Linked DNA regions of Homo sapiens: region 1 is linked to region 2. The links are contacts of gene promoters, found by promoter capture Hi-C in human tissues and cell types (Jung and others, 2019). All regions are on one chromosome and are shown on one strand. Each heading gives the region's core, a stretch centred on a gene start or on the middle of the fragment in contact. The rest is flanking DNA. Distances are from core to core; before and after follow the strand shown.

What was found. The method cuts DNA at HindIII sites, captures the fragments that hold promoters and counts their contacts. A contact is called where the count stands out against the background at its distance.
Region 1: a contact is called between a fragment that was not itself captured here and the fragment with the promoter of ZBED3 in region 2, in 2 of the 25 tissues and cell types used here (aorta and dorsolateral prefrontal cortex).

What each region holds. Positions count from the first base shown.
Region 1 is chr5:77,405,873-77,409,262 of GRCh38, forward strand. PDE8B (phosphodiesterase 8B) reads left to right here. Exons shown (of 22, transcript NM_003719.5): 13 at 1,509-1,585; 14 at 3,021-3,185. Among named protein-coding and RNA genes, the nearest start is that of WDR41, 85 kb to the right of the region's middle. The HindIII fragment of the contact is 6,497 bases long and covers 1-3,390 here.
Region 2 is chr5:77,085,198-77,088,534 of GRCh38, forward strand. ZBED3 (zinc finger BED-type containing 3) reads right to left here and starts at 2,088. Exons shown (of 3, transcript NM_032367.4): 1 at 1,914-2,088. It overlaps ZBED3-AS1 (ZBED3 antisense RNA 1), which reads left to right and starts at 1,518. Exons shown (of 3, transcript NR_182763.1): 1 at 1,518-2,422. It also overlaps a transcript of PDE8B not described here. RefSeq lists enhancers at 1,746-2,347, 2,348-2,950, 2,951-3,337 and a silencer at 1,760-1,929. The HindIII fragment of the contact is 7,057 bases long and covers 1-3,337 here.

The sequences.
Region 1 (3,390 bases), core at 31-2,530, 320 kb after region 2:
GATGGTTAGTGCCTGTGATAGAAAAGAGAGATGAGGCTGGTAACTTAAGAGAGTCAACAGAAAGGACAAGGGAGGGACTTTCCAGTCCTTCTGTACACAGTAGGAAGACTGAGTATGAAAGTGGCTGACATAGGCCAGGTGCGATGGCTCATGCCTGTGATCCCAGCAGTTTGGGAGGCTGAGGCAGGCGGATCACCTGAGGTCAGGAGTTCGAGGCCAGCCTGATCAACATGGTGAAACCCCCTCTCTACTAAAAATACAAAATTAGCTGGGTGTGATGACGCATGCCTTAATCCCAGCTACTCAGGAGGCTGAGGCATGGGATTCGCTTGAACCCAGGAGGCGGAGGTTGTGGTGAGCTAGATCGTGCCTCCAGCCTGGGCAACAAGAGCGAAACTCCATCTCAAAATAAAAATAAAAATAAAAAAAATTTAAAAAGTGGCTGACATAGCAAGAACCAAAGATGCTAGAGACAAGATGATAATTCACAGGGCATGTGAGGGACAGTAACCAATAATATAAAGAGAATATGAATCGAGAGATTTTTGAGATGGATTGAGCGGATAGATAGAATATTTTAGTCTGAGAGGATAAGGGATGAGGGAATTTGAACTGGATTCACTGTTTTTGGAGCAGAACTTGAAGGGGACTGTCTTCTTTCCAGTACGGGCACAGTGGAGGCTGAAGAGCATGCAGGTCTGCAATGGCTGCTGCACTAGCAGCGGGGGGACCCCAGAGGTGGCTGAGCAGGAGGCAGGCTCTGATGTGGGGTGGGTTCAGTGATCCCATCCATGAAATGGGACTCCCCCTCCTGCCTGCCTCAGAGGGGGTGGTAGGAAGATCTGATGAGAACAGTGCTTTTCAAGTCAAGCTTCTACCCTTGGCATCTTAAACCAAGTATAAACATTAACTATGTAGAAAAATAAAAGATTTTTTAAAAAATGAAAGCTTCTGTAGATTTGAACTAGAACTTCCATGGGTTTCTGGGAGTTAAGAGCCTAAAGGCATGGGCAGGCGGAGTGACTGGCCCTAATTCAGACTGAGAATGGGCTCAATCCTCCGCCCTGACCCTAACCATGAACTGCCTCCCCTCTCAAGCTGGCTGCACAGTCATCTGGTTACACGGCCAGCAGCTTAGGACTGAAAGTCATGGAACTGCAAAAGTTGGGTTTGGGTGACTTGGGGGAAAGTGAGCCGTGTGGGGGTCATTAAGCTGTTGGAATGAGGCCTTTTTGGACCTCATCAACCTTCTCTGAAATTCCCCTTGTGGACTTGGGGCTCAGCAAGCCCTCCTGCCTCCAAAGTTCCAGGCCAGATCGCCTTTCCAGACTCAGGCAAGTAGCAGTTGGGCTACCAGCCTTGGCAGAAGAGATGGGTGAATTCATGGCTTTTTAGGTGGGAGGGTGGCCCTGTGAGAAGCGGGCCCTGGTCCATGAAGGGACTCCTTTGCTGCACTTAGCCACACTGAGCCACCGGAACTGGACACAGCTTTCTTGCCTTCTCTCCAGCACCAAGCCTGCAGAATCGTCGCTATCCGTCCATGGCGAGGATCCACTCCATGACCATCGAGGCTCCCATCACAAAGGTGAGTGGCGGCTGCTGCCTGCACTCTGCAGTCAGGGGCCCTCACACAGGGCCGTGCTCTGAAAATACATCACACTGACATCATGGAGCTCAGTCTAGTGGAAGAAGCAAATAACAGGCAAATAAACACATAGCAAATAAACACCTCATCCTAAGTCACAATCAGGGCAGTGAAGGAAAACAAGCGGGTTCTGTGAGAGAAAATTAGAGTAGGGCCCTTAAGTAGGTTGGAAGAGAGGGTGGTCAGGGAAACTCTCAGTCATGTTTGAAGCAAGTCTTGAAGCATAAGATGTTACTCAGGAGAAGAAGGAAGAGAAGACTCCGGGTAGCAGGAACAGCCAGGGAAAAAGCATTGCAATGGGCGAAGAGGGACTGGAACATTTAAGGAGCTGAAAGAAAGTCGGAGTGGCCGGAGCTTGGTAAGCAGGTGAGAGAGGAGGAGGATGTAGGTTGTACAGGGCTCAGCTCATTCTGGACAGCAGGGACATAGTTAGGAGTTTGTATCTTAGTTTATGTGCACTGGAAACCACTGAAGAGTTTCAGGTGTGGGGTGGGTGATGTGACCAGATATGTTTGTTGAAAAGAACACCCAGCTTCTGTGCAGAGAATCGATTGGAGGTGGCAAGAGAACAGGTCAGTTAGGGGGCTATTCTAGAAGTAGCTGAGCTAGAATTATAGCTGTGGAGGTGGAGAGAAATGAATAGATCAAGAAATATTTTGAGGCAGACCAATAGGACTTGGTGATGAATTATATTGCCAGGGTAGGGAGAGGAATGAGGAAAAGTATTATGTCAGGCATGGCCCTCCCAGGTTTTTGGTGTGAGCATGAAGTGCTTTCTTGATAGAAAATGACATGAGATAGAAGTGCTTTCTTTTGCAGTGTAGAAACCACAGAAGGTGAACAGCTTTTGTCTTTGATTTTTTTGTTGTGTGTGTTTATGTGATTTCTATGGAGAGAGGGGAACAAGACTGCAGTTTAGTGTTAGACCTGTGAGATATTCCAGTAGGTATGTCAGGTAGGGAATTGAATGTACAAGCCTGGAGGTCAAAGGAAGTTGAGGGCTGGGAGGTATATCGAAAGTCCCTAGCTATAGGTGTCCAAAGTCGTGGAGACAAAATATCATTTCTGGAAGCGAGAGAGTGAGAGAGGGGCCCAGAACAGATCTCTGAGCAACTCCAATCTGTAGAGGAGGGCCAGGGGAGGTGAATCTGCAAGGGAGCCTGAGGAAGCCTACTCACTGAGACAGGAGAACATTCACCAGGAGCCCGCAGGGAGAAAAGCATGCTTCAGGAAGAAGGGCGGTGCCGTGAAAGCACTGGTCATTTTGAATAAGAGATGGTTACCCACTGATTTCTTTTGGATTCTGGGCATATATATGACTTTTGGGAAGTAGAACCCTATTATCCTCAGATGTATTCTTTCTTCACTCCGTTAGGTTATAAATATAATCAATGCAGCCCAAGAAAACAGCCCAGTCACAGTAGCGGAAGCCTTGGACAGAGTTCTAGAGATTTTACGGACCACAGAACTGTACTCCCCTCAGCTGGGTACCAAAGATGAAGATCCCCACACCAGTGATCTTGTTGGAGGCCTGATGACTGTGAGTGATGAGGCAAAACCTGAAAAGCAAGAGAGGTATCCGGGGCCTCTAGAGTGCAGCTGATGTGGAAACTGTTACCTGTGGTTGCAGAAGTACCTGTTATATAGACTAACGTTAGCATAACCAGAAGCAACTGCGTCAGAATTTATGTATAACATGTGCAGTGGTATTTGAGTGACTCTTGCATTTGTCTTTCCATGAGGCT
Region 2 (3,337 bases), core at 838-3,337:
CTCAGTATGATGTCCCTGAATACCAATATAAAGAATAAAGGAAGAGATCAAAACCTGGATGAATAATCTGTATAAACATGGGCATATACACAAGGTATGACTATAATATTGAGACTCATCCTATAAAGCACCTACAAAAGTTGATTGTATTATTTTATACTTATGCTTGTGCACATAAAAAATATTTGGCAGGCTAAAGGCCAAAGAACCAGGCACTGTTCTCAAAAGGACATAGCAGATTAACTACACCTCTATTTGTCCTTCTATACTCAAGGCTACTTACTGTAGTTGGGTTGACCAGGCAGAGTTTAAATCAATATATGTTGGTTGAGCCTGGATCTTAGATGAGAAATTCACACTAACGTGAAATTCACACAGACATATGTGGAAACACTAAAAACATTTTCTTTTACTTCATCCACCAGTGACTTTAATGAAAGCAGAGCATAATAATTAATACAAGTAATTAGAGTTGACAACTGAAGTGTCAAGAAAACCACAGTTCATCTGTTATCCGTCCATCTCTGTTGAAATATTAGTTTACTGCCATATATTAATCTATTTATAAAGAGATCCAGACAATTAGAAAAATTAGTCTGGAATCACCAGGCTGAAGGCTTAGCTGAAGTTAAAAGACAAGTAAAAATGCCTCCAAACTGTAAAACCTGAGTTGGGGAATAAATGGTAAAATGTGTAAAAATTTAGAAAAAGGTTATATGTGGACTGTAAAAAATACACTGGACTCACAGGTAATTAAGGGGTGAATCAGAGTTGTTTCCTAAATGGCATAAGCCAAACTCTTAGATATTTCTACCATTAGCTAAAAGGCAGAGAAGCACTCTCTCTCTCTATTAATGCACTTTTAAAAATGAAAATTGTGAAGTGTTCTGCCCTTAAAGTGGACCTTTATTTCAGGTCTGCATTACTTTGCTTAATAGATATGGTCCTAAAGATTAAGGTGGTGATCCATTTTATCTTGTAAAAATGCATAATTTAATCTGAGTTATAGGAATTTAAAGCTGCCCTACTTTGAAGGCCTTTGTGACTCAAAGATTTTTTTAATTTAATTTTTAAATTGAGAATTACCTGGCTTGGGCTTTTGGTCTTTTTATAATACGTATTGCTGTCTACTTTTTTTTTTATTCTTGGCTGCCTCAAGCTATTCTTGCCTCCAAAAGGTGTCAGCATATGAATAAAAACAGCAGAAAATAATTACCCTAATTAGGTCAATGTATTAAGCTGTTTCTACAACTGTTTCTCTTAAACACCTTATCTTTGTAGTCTTGGCTCATTAGAAATTCGACTAGTGGTAAGTATTTATTTTTTTCCTTCAAGGGGGTTTTTGCTTTGCTAAGCCTCGGGCATTTGGTTCGTGCAAGAAATCACAGAAACTGCTCCAGCGGACTCCGAAAGGAGCGGAAAATTCTTTTGTTTGGGGGCCATGAGGGGTGGGGGAGGGGTGGGGATTCTGGTGTAAGCTTTTGGCTTGCATTCGCTTTCTCCCTCCGAAAGTGGGCGACATCAAGCAAGTCCCAGTTACAGAAAGAACCCACTGCAGGGCGTCCAGTCACTTGCCCAGTGAAAAGACTGTAATCAGACAACTTTAATAAAGGGAGAGCAGGAGAGTGGTGACGAATTTCCACATTCCGAACAAGCTTGTCGAAAGAGGAGTGCAGGGAAGGAGCAAGAATGAGGCACTGGAAGACGGTGAGCGGGGCCTTGCCACAGAATCCCGGGCCCACCTGCTTTCTCACAGTCGCGACAGCCGGCCCGGAGAAGGGCAGCCCAGCGAAGGGCACGCCCCGCGCGGGTGCCAGGGAGGCCGGCAGGGGCGTCCGCGGTCGCTGCTCACCTGCGCTCCCCGCTGCCCGGCCCAGCCCGCCTCGCCACCGAGTCTGGAAGCCCACACTCACCCCTTTACCCGGGAAACGCGGCCGGAGCCGGCGGCGGGTCGGGAGTCCGAGATGGTAGATCCCCCTCCAGGCGCCTCGCTGACATTTTGTCCCGGACGGAAAACCTCCGCGCGTGCCCCTTAAAGACACAGCGCTGCATTCACACGTCTGCGGGGAAAGGGGGGCCGTCACGTGTGGCCTTCGCCCGAAAGCGGTAGGGGAGTCGCTCTGAAACCGCCAAGGATCGCGAGCGACAGATTTGTGTTGGCCAGGGTTTTAAGATGACGCAATAGCTGAGTGTGGTTGAAATGTAACTATTGTTTTACAACTTTGCATTAACCTTCCAAGACCTGAATTCCCGGGCCTGAGTCTCAGAGCGCGGTTTGCATCTTTGCAGGCTGTAGGCGCATGATGTCACAAGTTATTGGAAGAAATCCCTCCAACCTAGGTTGGGACAGATGAAGGCGGCGCTTATTGGTGTTCACCAAAACACCAGCATGGTGTACCAGCTTTGGCTAGATGATGCTCAGGTAACGAACAACCCCTGCAACTCAGTGGCTTAAAGGTCCATTTCTCAAGCGAATTACTGTGGCTGCAGGGAGCTTTGGCAGTACTCCACCAGTTTTCTTCACTCCAGGCTGAAAGGTCAACTTTTCTGGGCCATGCTCCCTGCTGGGCTGGTAAACCAACTTTGAGGGAGAAGGGGGAAGTCCAGATATGTAGTGTTTGCTATTTCTATGATGTAAATGCTCCCACAATGGCCGATTTCAAGCTACAAACAGTCCAACAAGTGGCTTGCCAAGTTCCTGGAAATTTAACAATTAGCTCCTGTACATGACTGGCACAAGCTGCTTTCCAAACTCACATTCCGCATGCCTCAGTTCTGCTCACTTTCTATTGGTCAAAACTTGCTGTCAGTGGGTGGGGAAGTGTACCCCTCTCTTAAGGAAGCCTTGCAAGTCTTGTGACAATGAAACAGGAGAGTTCCCTGATTTCCTCCCGGCCCCCGCCCTCCCACAGCCCTTTGCAGGACGTGCAACAGGGTTGTGGCTCGTGTGTTCGGTCTCTGCCTGCTGAAACCCCTTATGGGAGGTGGAGCATGCAGACGGACGGGTGCAGGAGCCAGGGTGCAAAAGCTGGGGCGCTGGGCTTCCAGCCCCACGGCAGTGTCCAGGGGCAGGATCCCGTGATTCCCGGAGCCCAAATGGGCGTGTGTTACAGTGTGCTCTTTTAGCCTTACCATCAGCTGACGGCTTAAGTGTTAACCAGCTCAATAGACCCTCTGCCTTTTTGCAAGCGCAGAGGGTCAGTGTGACAGTTTCTGTATCTCAGCTCTTGTCTCACCTCCCAGAAGAATCAGGTCACACATGGACTTGAAGGATGGTGAGTGCCGGGGTGGGGGCGGGGGTAGAGGAGTTGGGGGAAGGTTGGGGGTGTTTATTAGG